3 separate regions of the Homo sapiens genome follow, and all the other regions are linked to region 3. Evidence: promoter capture Hi-C in 16 types of primary human blood cells and fetal thymus (Javierre and others, 2016). All regions are on one chromosome and are shown on one strand. Each heading gives the region's core, a stretch centred on a gene start or on the middle of the fragment in contact. The rest is flanking DNA. Distances are from core to core; before and after follow the strand shown.

Evidence for each region. The method cuts DNA at HindIII sites, captures the fragments that hold promoters and counts their contacts. A CHiCAGO score of 5 or more calls a contact.
Region 1: a contact is called between a fragment that was not itself captured here and the fragment with the promoter of DMKN in region 3, in 1 of 17 cell types (total B cells). The highest score is 5.8, in total B cells.
Region 2: the fragment with the promoter of ZNF792 here is called in contact with the fragment with the promoter of DMKN in region 3 in 3 of 17 cell types (naive B cells, naive CD4 T cells and total CD4 T cells); the score reaches 6.1 in naive B cells.

What each region holds. Positions count from the first base shown.
Region 1 is chr19:34,980,841-34,983,540 of GRCh38, forward strand. No RefSeq gene overlaps it. Among named protein-coding and RNA genes, the nearest start is that of ZNF792, 18 kb to the left of the region's middle. The HindIII fragment of the contact is 6,510 bases long and covers 1-2,700 here.
Region 2 is chr19:34,962,922-34,965,621 of GRCh38, forward strand. ZNF792 (zinc finger protein 792) reads right to left here and starts at 1,308. Exons shown (of 4, transcript NM_175872.5): 1 at 709-1,308. The coding sequence starts at 741. LOC124904699 (a long non-coding RNA gene) reads left to right here and starts at 505. Exons shown (of 2, transcript XR_007067236.1): 1 at 505-752. RefSeq lists silencers at 650-699, 810-1,069. The HindIII fragment of the contact is 6,406 bases long and covers 444-2,700 here.
Region 3 is chr19:35,512,365-35,515,064 of GRCh38, forward strand. DMKN (dermokine) reads right to left here and starts at 1,285. Exons shown (of 16, transcript NM_033317.5): 1 at 686-1,285; 2 at 226-426; 3 at 57-113. The coding sequence starts at 1,111. The HindIII fragment of the contact is 13,607 bases long and covers 1-2,700 here.

The sequences.
Region 1 (2,700 bases), core at 195-2,694, 530 kb before region 3:
CCATGTTGGCCAGGCTGGTCTTGATCTCCTGACCAGCCTCCCAAAGTGCTAGGATTACAGCATGAGCCACTGCGCCCAGCCTTTATTTACTTTATAACTGTACTTACCTTATGTAATGAGTATATATGAAGTAGTGCTAAAATATACATATTTAACATTTAAATATCATGCAGCATTAAAAGACATGGCTGGGTCCAGTGGCTCCCATCTGTAATTCCAGCACTTTGGGAGACCGGCAGGCAGACGGAATGAACCCAGGGTTTTGAGACCAGCCTGGGCAAGATGGTGAGACTCCATGCCTACAAACAATACAAAAATTAGCCAGGCATGGTGGCATGTGCCTGTAGTCCCAGCTACTCAAGAGGCTGGGGTGGGAGGATGGCTTGGGCATGGAAGACCAAGGCTGCAGTGAGCTGGGATGGCATCATTGCACTCCAGCCTGGGTGACAGAGCAAGACCCTGTCACAAAAAATAAATAAATAAACAAACAAACAATAAAAGACATATAAATAAATAACTGTCCTCTACCTTGCATCCACATCCCATAATCAATCATTTTCGTCTTTTGGCTCTTCTATTATTGCTTTATGTTGCTGAATAATTTGCATATTCTAATATCTCTTTTGCATTTTAATCAGTATTATTGAAGGATAGTTTATATACAATAAAATGTGTCTCTTTTTTGTTACTTATCGTTTTGAAACACCTGTATTCCACATGTGTTTATTAGGTGTTTACGATGCTCTAAAAGTGCATTACAAATAAGTCATCAAACCACTAGCTTAGCAAATTCACACAGGCATGTCAGCAGTGGGGAAAATAAAACAATTAATTATAATGTCCCATTAATAATATCCTGTAAATATCAAACACAACGCATTTTTTTTCTTTGTCCTCATTGCAAACTATACTGCCTAGGCCATCCGTAAACAAAAATTTTTGTGTGTATTATAAGTATTTCCATCAGTTTGGGATTCTTAAACTCAAAATTCTTGGCTCTACCAGTTGCAAACTTTTAAAATTTTAATTCTAATCAGTCATATAAATGCACAATAGCAAAAGTCAAAGAATTCAACAAGATTTCTAAACCCAGCAGCTCTCTTCTCTACTCCATGCCGTCCCACCCCATCCCCCTCTCCAGAATTAGCCACTCTCTCTTTTAGTGCATAGTTCTATTTTCATCTCCTTTTTTTTTTTTTTTTGAGTTGGAATTTCACTCTGTTGCCCAGGCTGTAGTGCAGCAGTGCCATCTCCGCTCACTGCAACCTCTGCCGCCCGGGTTCAAGCAATTCTCCAGCCTCAGCCTCTCAAGTAACTGGGATTACAGGCATGCACCGCCACACCAGGCTAATTTTTGTATTTTTAGTAGAGACAGGGTTTCACCGTGTTGGCCAGGCTGGTCTCGAACTCCTGACCTCAAGTGATCCGCCCATCTCAGCCTCCCAAAGTGCTGGAATTGCAGGCATGAGCCACTGTGCCCGGCTCCACGTTTATAAATAGCAGGTTTATATACAGTCTTGAATTTGAATGTTATATATTATCAACTTACTTTTTACTAGAAGATGATGAATTCGCTCTTTTCACTCCTCTCCCACACACATATTTCCTTCCCCCCCCTTCAATCCTCCCAGAATTGTCATGTCATGATTTTTATTAAGTTCACTGATTATGTTATGGAGATCAGGAAAATGTTAGAGATGAGCTATGTCGTGCGCTGTCCTTACATTTCTTTCTCATGCAAACTTTTTGCTTTTCTTTACAACTGTAGTTGAGATTTGTCCTTTTCTCTGCTTTGAATAATTTAAACTCCAATCTCTGTCCTTCTGCTCCAATCTATACTTTCTTCAAGCCAGCTGCATGATTCTCCTGCTGGGACTTCACTTCACCATCTAGTCATGTTGGTCCTCCATTTTCTCTTTCCTGGTTTACTCCCTTGTTTAGGGTGAAAATATCTTCCAGGAGCTTCCTGAGAAAGACTGTTTGGGAGGAAACTTTTTGAGACTTTGTTTGTCTGAAAATGTCTAACCCTGTTTCCACTTGAGTGATAATTTGATAGAAGTCCAGGTTAAACAGCAGTTTTTCCCCAGAGTGTCCAATGTCCTCCCACCTGTGATCCTTTGACTGTGATCTGTTTGGCTTTTTTTTTTTCTCTCTCTGGAAACCTCTAGAACTGATGTTCTGAAATATTATTACCATATTTTAACAATTGTGGAGCACTCTGCAGGCTCTTCAAATTTCTTTCAGTTATGGGGACATTTCTTTAATACTTTCTTCACTACTGGAGTTTCTGTTTTCTCTTTTTTGGAATTTCTGAATTTATCCTCTAATTTTCTTATATTGTCTCTTATTATCCACTTTTGTCTTTTATTCTGCTTTCCAGAAGTTTTCCTTTTAGTTTGTCATTGTTTTTTAGAGACAAATTCTCAGCGGCTGGGCACGGTGGCTCATGCCTGTAATCCCAGCACTTTGGGAGGCCGAGGCGGGCGGATCACAAGGTCAGGAGATCGAGACCATCCTGGCTAACGCGGTGAAACCCCTTCTCTACTAAAAATACAAAAAATTAGCCAGGCGTGGTGGTGGGCACCTGTGGTCCCAGCTACTCGGAAGGCTGAGGCAGGAGAATGGCGTGAACCCGGGAGGCGGAGCTTGCAGTGAGCCGAGATTGAGCCACTGCACTCCAGCCTGGGCGTCACAGAGAGA
Region 2 (2,700 bases), core at 58-2,557, 550 kb before region 3:
CCAAAAACCATGGATTCTTCCCTCCTCTTTCTCACCCTCCACATCGGAAAATTTGGTCAGCTTGACTTAAAAGACATCAAGTTCCCAATCACTTCCTCTACCTCCAGTCCTCACTCTGGTCCGGCCAGCCGCAGCACTGGCCTGGGCTATTCCATTAGGCTACTCCTTGGCATCCCTGCTTGCGGCTCACTCCATATTCAGTTCTCCACTGTGCATCCACAGGGAGCCTGTTAAGACCTGAGTCACAGCATCTTCCTCCTCTGCCCTAAACCTTCCATGGCTCCCAACACCCTCAGAACAGAGGCCCAGCTCTGCCGTTCTGAGCTGTCTTCAGCCCACCTGCTCTCTGGTTCCAGCAGACATAATATTAATAACACTGACCTGGGTGGGGTTCCTTGAACACTCCCAACTCAGTCTCCACACCGTGCCCCACCCCACCCCCAAGCTTTTGCGCACGCTGGTTCCTGTGCCTACAAAGCCCTTTCTCCCTCCATCCCATTACATTTCAGCAACGGAAGCCACTTTATATAAACCCTGCCCTGATTCAGGATCCTAGCTGGGAGCAACTCCCTTCCAGGGTCCCCTGACTCAAAAGCAAGGAAATGGGAAAGGCGAAAAGTCCTAGAACAAAGCCATCTTTTGCGTCTCAACACCGAGAACAGAAGCGTGGGGGGCCGACAGCGAAGGGCCTAACGTCCAAGCACTCACCTGCGCGGGGTCCCGCAGCGCCGCCGCTGCCATCGGAGTCTGTGGTCAGAGCAGGGCCCCACGGTGCGGGAAACCACGGGGCGGGGGTAGGGGGTCTCGCAGGCTGAGGCTACCACCCACCTGGCCGTGCCCCAGACGAGGTGTGACCCCGGGCTGAGGGTCGCACTCCTAGCCTCAGTCTCCCCCGTGCAAAATGCGCAAGGGGCCCGGGGCGCAGGCTCCGGGGGCGCCGAGAGCGCGCAGCTCCGCTGGGTACCCCCGTTGCAAGGGGTCACGGCTGGTGCAAAGGCGCGGAGGGGGTCCCGGCCTCACTGTCCCCCTCGCGGTCCGGGAAAGCCGGCGGGGCAGCTTCACGGGCGTAGCCCCAGCCGCCCCGCCCCCAACTCGGGGTCCCCAGCTCCTGGGGACTCAGCCTCCCCGCCGGGAAATGACCTGCGAGGCTGCAGTGCAGGAAGTTCCGGCCCCCACCGTGGCGGCCGGGAGAGTTGCCCTCTCCCGTACTGTCATTGGCCTGGCGCCAGCCGCTGGTGCACAGGCAGGGCCTGGGGATCGCGAGTTTCTGCCCAGCCTCTCGTCAGGCTGAGGGTCCAGGGCGGGAAGGAGAGCGGATCTCGTCGGGTCTCCACCGCCGCCGCCTGCAGCCCTCGGGCCTTCCCCTTAAAGGGGCCGCTCCCGAGCCTGCAGCCGCCCGCGCTAAACCCCGCCCACCCTCCGAGGTCCAGGAGGAGAGCCCCAGTGCTCTTCCTGCGCGTGTGGGCATCGGCCAGCCGCTTCACCCCTAAGGGACCTAAATTCACACTGGAAAATGGGGATAGTACCCAATGGGCGGGGTCTTTGCGTTGTAATATTAAATGTCGCTCTGATTCAGGGCTTCTCAAACCAGCAACATCAGCATCACCTGGGGACTGGCTGAAAATGCAGGTTCTGGGGCAACAACTTAAATCTAAGGACTCAGAAATTCTGGGGATGGGATTCAGCCTTCTCTACTTTTTGCGGGGGGGGCGGGGGGGATGGGTCTCGTTCTGTTGTCCAGGCTGGAGTGCAGTGGCCTGATCATAGCTCACTGCAGCCTCCATCTCGGGCTCAAGCTATCCTCCTGCCTCAGCCTACCAGGTAGATGGGATACAGGCGTGCACCATCATACACAGCTAATTTTAAAATTTTTTGTAGAGACTGGATCTCCCTGTGATGCCTAGGCTGGTCTCAAACTCCTGAGCTCAAGTGATCCTCTCACCTCGGCCTCCCAAAGTGTTGGGAATTGCAGGAGTGAGCCATGGTGCCAGGCCTCCTTCTCTGTTTTAACAAGCCCTCTGGGGACTCCAATGCTGGCTCCAACTTTACAGCAGGGACTCTCATTGAAATCCAGTAAATAAAATGGGAAAAATAACACTACATTGTTGCAGGAAGTCAGGGACCCCGAACGGAGGGACCTGCTGAAGCCGTGACAGAAGAACATTAATTGTGAAGATTTCATGGACATTTATTAGTTCCCCAAATTAATACTTTTATAATTTCTTATGCCTGTCTTTACTGCAATCTCTGAACATAAATTGTGAAGATTTCATGGACATGTATCGCTTCCCCAATCAATACTCTTGTGATTTCCTATGCCTGACTTTACTTTAATCTCTTAATCCTGTCATCTTCGTAAGCTGAGGATGTATGTCATCTCAGGACCCTGTGATGATTGCGTTAACTGCACAGATTGTTTGTAGGGCATGTGTGTTTGAACAATATGAAATCTGGGCACCTTAAGAACAGGATAACAGCGATTTTCAGGGAACAAGGGAGATAACCTTAAAGTCTGGCTGCCTGTGGGACGGGCAGGACAGAGCCATATTTCTCCTATTACCAAAAACGGGTAAGAGAAATATCGCTGAATTCTTTCCCCAGTAAGGAATATTAATAATTAACAGCCCTGGGAAAATAATGCATTCCCAGGGCAGTGCCTCTAAAATGGCTGCCCTGGGAGTGTCTGCCTTATGCACATGT
Region 3 (2,700 bases), core at 35-2,534:
TCTCTGTAGCCTGCACCCAGTGGCTTCTTCATTTGTTCCCAGCCCCTTCCTCTTACCCCTTCATTCTGGTTGCTGGCTCTCACTGAACCATAGCCAGGCTGGGCCACAGCTCCCTGCAGAGAGGGTGAGACTGAGAGTAGGATCCAGAGGGACCAGGGAGGCACGCGGAGCATGTGGGCTTGGAGGGAGGGAGGTGGCAGGTAGCAGGTCTGGGGGTGACTTTACCTGAGTGTTGGTCCCAAAGTTTGGTGGCCCTCCATTGCCTCCTTGACCCCAGGGAGCTCCCTGAGGATTCATTCCAAAGCTGCCTGCTGAGTTTCCGGGGTATCCGTGGACCCACGGAGTCCCCAGACCTCCAGGATTGCCCTGGCCCTGGCCTCCAAGGCCACCTTGAGAGCCAAAGATGCCATGGCCTCCAGAAGTTTCCTGCAAGAACAACATACCTGCACTTAGTGGGACCATCTCTGACCCTGGTAGAGAAGAGCCAGGGCAAATCATAAAGAGACCAGGAGAGAGACAGGCAGAGGGACTCCAGGGTGGCATAGGAGGGGGGCAGAACATAGAAGGAAGCTGCCCCAGAAGCCTGCAAGTAAGAGATCCATCCATCCTTTCAACCGTTTCCCAAGAATCTCAGCCCAGCAGCCCACAGCCTCCCATTTCCACATGCAGCCCCACAGCCACTCACCCAAGCACCATTGTGGCCAGGCACCCCCTGCCAGGAGCCGCGGACAGCATCTGCTCCGTGTCGAATGACATCTTCTGCCTGTCTGCCAATCTCGTGCCCAGTGTTTCCCAGAGCATGGGCTGCTTCCCCGACCCTGTTGCCCAAAGCATCTGCTACGCCAAAGCCTGGAACCTGCCTGACTCCAGTGCCAACTGCTTCTCTGGTCCCTTGGCCAAGGGCCTCACTGACTTTAGAGCCAGCTGCCCCTCCGGCCTCTTTGCCAATGGCCTTTCCCACCCCTTCGCTCAGGGCGTCTCCCAGGCCATGTCCAAGGGCCTCCCCAATATTTGTCCCAGTGCTTTCCTCTCCGCTCTGCAGGGGGCCAGCCTCCCCACTGCCCAGGCAGAGGGCCAGCAGGAGGCAGGCCAGGGGCCCCTGGAACTTCATCTCTGCCCAGCCCCCTCTCTCTCCAGAGTGTCTTCCTCCCACCAGGGTCTCCTCCTTGCCGCCCTTGCTCTGCGTCTCTGTGCCCTCCTCTGTCCTCCTCCTTCCGACTCCCTGTCCTCCCTCCCTCTGGGTCTGCAGCCTTCTCTCTCCTGTCCTCAACTGCCTGGGCTTCTCAGAGTCCACCTCCCTGTCACTACTCCTTATACTCTAGGTTGGGAGAAGGTGACAGGGCTGGGCAACCTGAGGTCCCTCCCCGCAGTGACTCAGGGCCCAGCCACCAATAGGGTAATCAGCTGTTATTGTGAGTCTGAGAGTCTCTGTCGAAACAGAGAGTGAGCCGCATCAGGGAGGGAGGGAGAAATGGATGAGGTGATGCAAAAGTGCTCCCATTTCCCAACCCCAGGCATTCGGGGAGCTGGGTGGGGGCAGGGGCATCTAAGGAGACAGGTTGTCGTTGGCTCCTGGAGGCGGTGGGGTGGGGGCAGACTTAGAAGAGAGGAGTTACTGGCAGGACCCCACCAAAGGAGTAAGGACAGGGAAGCCCCAGGGGACAGGACCCACCCAGGCTCAGCCAGCCTGGCTCAGGGGCTCCAGAGTGACAGGCATTGCCCGTCCTCGGCCTGGCCTTTCTCGGTTTCAGCACCTCAGCCTCTCCTCTCCCTCTCCCCTCCCGCATTGCCACCTACAGGTGACTGCCTTCTTGTTCCTCCACACCTTCCAGCCCACAGAGAGAGACTGGCAAACACGGGGCTGCGTGTCAGTTTCTGAGATTCTGGGGAGAGCCCCCGGGGGGACCCTCGGTGTCGGGGAAGGAGGTGGCCATAGCCCTTTGAGTGGTCAGCAGGGTGTCTCAGCGTTCAGGCTGCTCCCGGCTGAGAAAGCTGGGCGCGGAGCAGGGCAGCCAGGCGCGCCAGCCACCCCCAGGGAACGAGTGGGAGGGAAGGCCAAGGGAGGGAGCCGCTGACCCAGGCACCCATCCTGTTTACGCAGCCCTAGAGGGGCACGTGTGAGTATAAGCGCCTATGAGGGGCGGGACTGGGCCAGCTCACCCCACCCATCCCCCAGGCCAGGGGCCAGGGCAGCAATGGCAAGCGAGAAGAGGGTAGCGCAAGGTCAGGAGCCATCCGTGAGAGCCACGGCCCTCTCCCCAGTCCCAGCTCGGGATACAGAACCTGGGAGCCTCCCCCCGCCTCACCCCTGCCCAGCAAGTGTGGCTGCTTCTCTATTCCCAGGGGCCACAGGGCCTCCCACTGTTTCGTATCACTGGGGTTCATCGCCCAGTTAGGAGGGGCCAGTTTCCATCAGCCTTTCTCAATGTCTCTCAGTCAGTCTCTCTCTTCTCTCCACCCCAATATCCGCACCCCAGCTTATAACATCCAACACTTCTTACCTTGTAAACACTATCCCCATCTGTCCTCCTCAGCTCCTACTTCCCTGTTATTCCATCTCTGACTCGTTAATGATGATAATAGCGATGGTGGTAATAATAATAATAATAATAATAATAATTACAGCTCCAGCTTATCAGCGGTTCTGTATGTACCCAGCATTGGACTAAGCACAAGCAGTTTAAGAATTATACAACTCTG